Linked DNA regions of Homo sapiens: region 2 is linked to region 1. Evidence: promoter capture Hi-C in 16 types of primary human blood cells and fetal thymus (Javierre and others, 2016). All regions are on one chromosome and are shown on one strand. Each heading gives the region's core, a stretch centred on a gene start or on the middle of the fragment in contact. The rest is flanking DNA. Distances are from core to core; before and after follow the strand shown. Region 1 holds the start of SAA4 (serum amyloid A4, constitutive). Region 2 holds the start of LDHAL6A (lactate dehydrogenase A like 6A).

The links. The method cuts DNA at HindIII sites, captures the fragments that hold promoters and counts their contacts. A CHiCAGO score of 5 or more calls a contact.
Region 2: a contact is called between the fragment with the promoter of LDHAL6A here and the fragment with the promoter of SAA4 in region 1, in 8 of 17 cell types (M2 macrophages, naive CD8 T cells, total CD4 T cells and 5 more). The highest score is 8.2, in M2 macrophages.

What each region holds. Positions count from the first base shown.
Region 1 is chr11:18,235,474-18,238,606 of GRCh38, reverse strand. SAA4 (serum amyloid A4, constitutive) reads left to right here and starts at 1,805. Exons shown (of 4, transcript NM_006512.4): 1 at 1,805-1,890; 2 at 2,677-2,771. The coding sequence starts at 2,681. SAA2-SAA4 (SAA2-SAA4 readthrough) reads left to right here. Exons shown (of 6, transcript NM_001199744.2): 4 at 2,677-2,771. It also overlaps a transcript of SAA2 not described here. The HindIII fragment of the contact is 10,895 bases long and covers 1-3,133 here.
Region 2 is chr11:18,454,516-18,457,513 of GRCh38, reverse strand. LDHAL6A (lactate dehydrogenase A like 6A) reads right to left here and starts at 1,658. Exons shown (of 7, transcript NM_144972.5): 1 at 708-1,658. The coding sequence starts at 833. The HindIII fragment of the contact is 8,824 bases long and covers 1-2,998 here.

The DNA.
Region 1 (3,133 bases), core at 556-3,055:
GTGATTATTGCGCATTGCATGGCTGTACCAAAATATCTCATGTACCCCATAATTATATACACCTACTATGTACCCACAAAAAATTTTTAAAAAGGAATGAAATAAAAACATTTGAGTTTAAGAAAACCACAAAAAAACAAAGTAGGGAAAGCTCTTCAAATACTATGAAATTGAGAAGACAACTAAAGAAAATATTAATAAAGACAAGAACATAAATAATTTCTTTGGCAGAACATAAGCCATCATAATCAGAAGATAAATAAGCTGGGAAAAATATTTGTAACTCATATCCTAGATAACATACTCATTTTCCCTGTATATAAAAAGTTTCTCTAATGTGATAAATAAAAACACAATAAACCAGTAAAAAATGACTACTTTGATATGAAGGTATGAATTCACAATTCCTAGAAAATAGAAATAGCTCTTAAACATGTGGAAAGATGTGAAACCAAAATCATAATAAGAGAAATGTAAATTAAAATTACTTTGAGTTTTATTTTACTCACAATTTCAAAGACCAAAAAGTTTGAGAGTATACTGTGTGAGAGACAATGTGGAACCAAGTTCTTTCACTCATTTCTGGTGGGAGTAGAGATTGATACAGCCCTCATGGAAGGCAATTTGCAACATATAAAAATTTATAAAATCTAGGGCCAGGGACGTTGGCTCATGCCTGTAATCCTAGCACTTTGGGAAGCCGAGGTGGGCAGATCATTTGAGGTAAGTGGGTCGAGACTAGCCTGGCCAACATGGCGAAATCCCGTCTCTCTTAAAAATAGAAAAATTAGCCTGATGTGGTGGCATGTGCCTATAATCCCAGCTACTCAAGAGGCCGAGGCAGGGGAATCTCTTGAACCCCGGAGGTGGAGGTTGCAGTGAGCTGAGATCATGCCACTGCACTCCAGCCTGGGGGACAGAGTGAGACTCTGTCTCAAACAAACAAACAAAAAATTTATAAAATCTGATACTTTTTCACCATGGAGTTTCTTCTGTAGGAATTTATCCTAGAGATATATTTGTACATGTGCAAGAGACATATGTACAAGGTTAATAAATGCACCATTATTTGTAATATCAAAAGGTTAATAACTGTCAAAACAGCCATTAATATTGTATAAATTATGGTCCATCCATGCAATGGAATACTGTGTAGCTGTAAAAAAAAAAAAAAAAAAAGCAACAAGCCCGACATGGAAAGACTTCCAATAAATAGTAAGTTTAAAAGAAAGTGCAGAATAATACATATTTATATGAAAAAAGAGTTTTTATGCCTCAAAGGCCTTCACCCTTGATCTTCTGGTGTTATTCCTGTCCTTGTATTCTCCCAGAATCATTACCTCATCCCATGAATGGTACAGTCAAGTCTTGCTTGTTCTGTGTCCTTACATTCTTTAGAGAGAAGTCACAAGAGACAAGCAAACATCTCTTTTGCTAATAATATTGATCACTTCCTACAGCATAATATCTATGTGCAATTTTTTGGGAAGACCTCCTACTAAACAGTTAAGAATGGAAAGACACAAAGAGAAGAAAGTGGAGAAAGACCTCTGTCTTCCCACACTGGATTTTGCAAATACAACTCTTCTGTGATACAGGAAACTAAAAAGAGGGAAAAGTGGCAATTAAGAAAAACTGCCAGAAAATAAATACCTTGATGACCCAATTTGGAAAACTACTTCTAGATAAGGAAACACTATTACCCAATATGTTAATTTTTAAAATACCCAAAGAATTGAGCAAAAAGGACTTTGGCAAGGCAGGTTGTTGGATTTAAAACCGTTCTCCCATTAATGCCAAAGCCAGCAGAGGTACCAACTATAGCTCCACGGCCAGAAGATACCAGCAGCTCTGCCTTTACTGAAATTTCATCTGGAGAAAGGTCCACAGGTGAGGTTTCTTCCAAGGAGTAATTTCTCTTATTTGACTCTTTTGAGATCCTTTTCTCACATAATTGTCAAATTTCAATTGGAGAGAAACTGTGTTTTCTACCTCATTACGGGGTCAGTGCTGAGGAGAGTAGGAACTCAGGAAATGCTTCTTGATTGACTTTAGTCTGCTGTATTGGGTGACAAATTGACCACAGACCAAATAACACGTTGGAATCCTCTTATTCTTTCTAGAGATCTGGGCTGAGAATTAAGGGTTTATGCTTCTTCTTAAAACCCGTTTCAATCTTTCATGCAGTTATGATTCTCATACAAACAAATGGAAATGGGGAATTAGTCTTTCAAATTCAGTCCTTTGGCTGGCACAGTGGCTCATGCCTGTAATCCTTTGGGAGGTTGAGGTAGGAAGATTGCTTGAGGCCAGGAGTTCGAGACTAGCCTGGGCCGAACATACATACCAAGACCTTGTCTCTACCAAAAAAAAAAAAAAAAAAATTAGCTGAGTGTGATGGTGCACGTTTGTAGTCCTTAATACTCAGGAGGCTGAGGTGGGAGGATCACTTGAGCCCAGAAGGTCGAGGCTGCAGTAAGCCTTAATCATATCATTGCACTTTAGCCTGGGCAATAGGAAAAAAAAAAGAAAGAAAGAAAGGGAGGAAAGAAAGAAAGGAAGGAGAAAGAAAGAAAAGGAAAAAAAGAAAGAAAAAAAGGAAAGAAATTCAGTCCTCAAAACATAGATCTGTGTTTTTTTTTATGATCCTCTGCCCCTGTCTTTCTTTCTCTTCAGCACAATGAGGCTTTTCACAGGCATTGTTTTCTGCTCCTTGGTCATGGGAGTCACCAGTGAAAGCTGGCGTTCGTTTTTCAAGGAGGCTCTCCAAGGTAAGAACTCTGGAGGATGGAGGGCACATACCCAGGATTCATTCTGAGCAGGGGCCACATACTCACTGGATGTGAGTGCTCCTTAGAGAAGCCACACAGAGGTCAGAGCAGGAGTGTGGTTTTCTGTATCTGTTTCTTCCTCTAGGCTGGTCTGATTTATCACCCTCCCTTGGGGTTTCCAGACGAGAGGTTAAAGATGCTTTGGGCCCAGCCTGTACTCTTGGTGTAGAGTGCAGAAGGATAAAAACTTCCAGGGGGTTATCTCCCACTGCGGAAATTTACAGATGGCAGATTTCTCAGGGCATGATGTTTATTTAGCTCATCCACCTCAGGGAATATACTGAGTTCACAATTATACTCCA
Region 2 (2,998 bases), core at 409-2,908, 220 kb before region 1:
TCCTTTAAATCCAATGACTCATGCCAGGATTAAAGGTTATATAAAAGATGGCTAAAACATTTTACAGATATTTCATTAATAAAAGTATAGCTCAGAGTGTCTTATGATTTATTAAAACTTTATGGTAATAAAGTTCATATCAGGGTAATATTCTTAGAAAGGGGTCAGAATCTTTTTTTGGCCTCTGTCTATAGCCATAAAACTTTATCAGCTGTATCAATACTAAGAACAGCTAAACACTAAAACTAACCTAACATGAATAAGGAACGAAGGGAAATAAAGATATACAGACTAGGAAATGGGAGAGAGATATTTAAATGAAAAAAGATTATTGTATTTGGTACTCGTAGGCTGCCTACCATCACTGACACGCTTGTATACTCTTTTCTGCCACCTATTTCTCTCCAGTTTGTTTTGTGAGCTGAGTTTCCAAATCAAGCAAAGGGGTACCTCATATTGTCATTACGTGAAAGTGAAATGTCAACATACTTTCACAGAGATGCTTCTAACCCACATGATATCATCATACAATTTTTAAAAAGGAGCGCCCTCTGGGTGAACAACTAAAAAAAGGGCACCTTTTCCTCTGATGCCCCTCACACTGGCTCCCCACTCACCACCTTGAACTGGACACAACCTCCACAACCATACGCTGTGGCCTCGCCTCCAACTGAGGTGAACCCTGTGGTGCAGAGCACACAACTTACTTTTAATAAGATGCTGATAGCACAAGCCACACCAACCGATCCAGTTCCTACAATGGAGATCTTATTGTGATGAATGGCCTCCTCTTCCGCGAAATTCTTAATAAGTTCACTCTTGATAGTTGCCATCTTGGAAACCTAACAGTGAAGACAAATTGCACAGCCATTTCCAAGACCTGGAATTGGAAATGGCTTGGAATTCCAAGACCTGCGGTGAGAGCGCGTATAGAGAACTCCTGGGCCCGTGTGGAAGGAGGTGCTGCAGACACACAAAAGACCGACAAATCTGACCAGCAAAGAAGCTGGGTAGGTTCTGGCCAGGCAGCTCAGCATCCATGAAGCGGACCAGGGGAAGGAGAAGGAAGCGTGAGTACAGTTAAGAGGAATTAAGAGAGAGAGAGAGGAAAGGAACAGGGGTTGCTCCACCAAACATGAAACTACAGCTGGGACGGCACTCCGTCCCGCAGCTGACCCCCTTTTCTCTCCCCTTTACCCTGCTGTTCCCCCAACCTCCAGTTCTCAGCTCCAGGACTGCGCCCGGGGTCCGCAGGTCCAGGTGAGAGGTACTTCTGGCCACACTCACAGGGGTGAAGGGCCACCCGCGCCCGAGCAGGTCACATGCCGCCTGGCGGAGACACAGAACCATCCTTGGGCAAAAACAATTCGCTCCCGCGGCGCCCGCTCTCTGGCTGCTCCCCAGGACTCTTGCAGCCCAGCTCATGGCCACTCACTCAAGAGGTGAAGAAAGAGAATGGAGGAAAATGGCGTTAAAGCTCATCGAGGCACGAAGGAGATGAACCGCCGACTAACAGACGCCGGGTCGCCCCCTTACTGCAGCTGCGCGGACCGCACCCAGCTCGTGCAGGCATCGCAGGTGTGATGCTTGGCAGGTGTGATGCTTGGCAGGTGTGATGCTTGGCAGGTGTGATGCTTGGCAGGTGTGAGGCCGGAAGCGGGCTGCGAAGCACCGCGCCTGCGCCTCTGCCTGCCCGCCCCGCCCCCGCGTGCGGGTGGGCGGGCTGCGGTGTAGGTGGTTGGCCGGCTGCAGAAGGCGCACGAGGTGCTGCAGGCACAACGCAGTGCAGGGCCTCTGCTGTTGGGCGGAGTTGTTTGCCTAGAACCCATCCACCAGAGAGCCCAAGTAATTTTATTTCTAACCAAACCTTGTCTGGATGTATCTGAAAAGGACTGTTTGACTCTCACGTGAAAATTTTCCCCCAGCCCTGTAGGAGAAAGGGACCTCAAGATTAACTTTTACCACCTCAAATGTGAGCTAAAGTAGAAAAAGTAAAATTTTAAAACTCTGGGCCGAGCGTGGTGGCTCACGCCTGTAATCCCAGCACTCTGGAAGGCCAAGGCGGGCGGATCACCTGAGGTCAGGGGTTCGAAATCAGCCTGGCCAACATCGTGAAACCACGTTTCTACTAAAAATACAAAAATTAGCTGGACGTGGTGGTGCACCCCTGTAATCCCAGCTACCTGGGAGGCTGAAGCACAAGAATTGTTTGTGAACCTGGGAGGCGGAGGTTGCAGTAAGCCGAAATTGTGCCACTGCACTCCAGCCTGGGTGACGGAGTGAGACCCTGTCTCAAAACAACAACAAAACTCTGTATGCAAAAGGAATTTGGAAATAAGATATGAAACCTGAAGAATTTGATGAATGCAGTGCCAATTGATAACCATTTTTACAAGATGAAGGGAAAGCTCAATTCATTATTAAGTGGTTAAATGTAGAATCCACACTTTGGGAGGCCGAGGCGGGTGGATTAGCTGAGGTCAGGAGTTCGAGACCAGCCTGGCCAACATGGCGAAACCCCGTCTCTACTAAAAATACAAAAATTAGCCGGGTGTGGTGGCACGCACCTGTAATCCCAGCTACTCAGGAGGCTGGGGCAGGAGAATCGTTTGAACCCGGGAGGCGGAGGTTTTGGTGAGCCGAGATCATGCCACTGCCCTCCAGCCTGGGTGACAGAGTGAGACTCCGTCTCAAAAATAAAAAACAAAAATGTAGAATTGAAAATCAGTCTGGAATAAACCAAGGTTTCTACTTCTCCCACCACATTTTACCTAATTGTTTTCTCATTTGTGAATCATAATACGTAATTTTGATGGTTAATACTGAGTGTCAACTTGATTGGATTGAAGGATGCAAAGTGTTGAACCTGGGTGTGTCTGTGAGGGTGTTGCCACAGGAAATTAACATTTGAGTCAGTAGGCTAGAAGACGCAAACCCACCCTCTATCCGGGTGAGCACCATCTAGTCAGCTGCCAGCACGTCTAGGATAAAAGCAGGC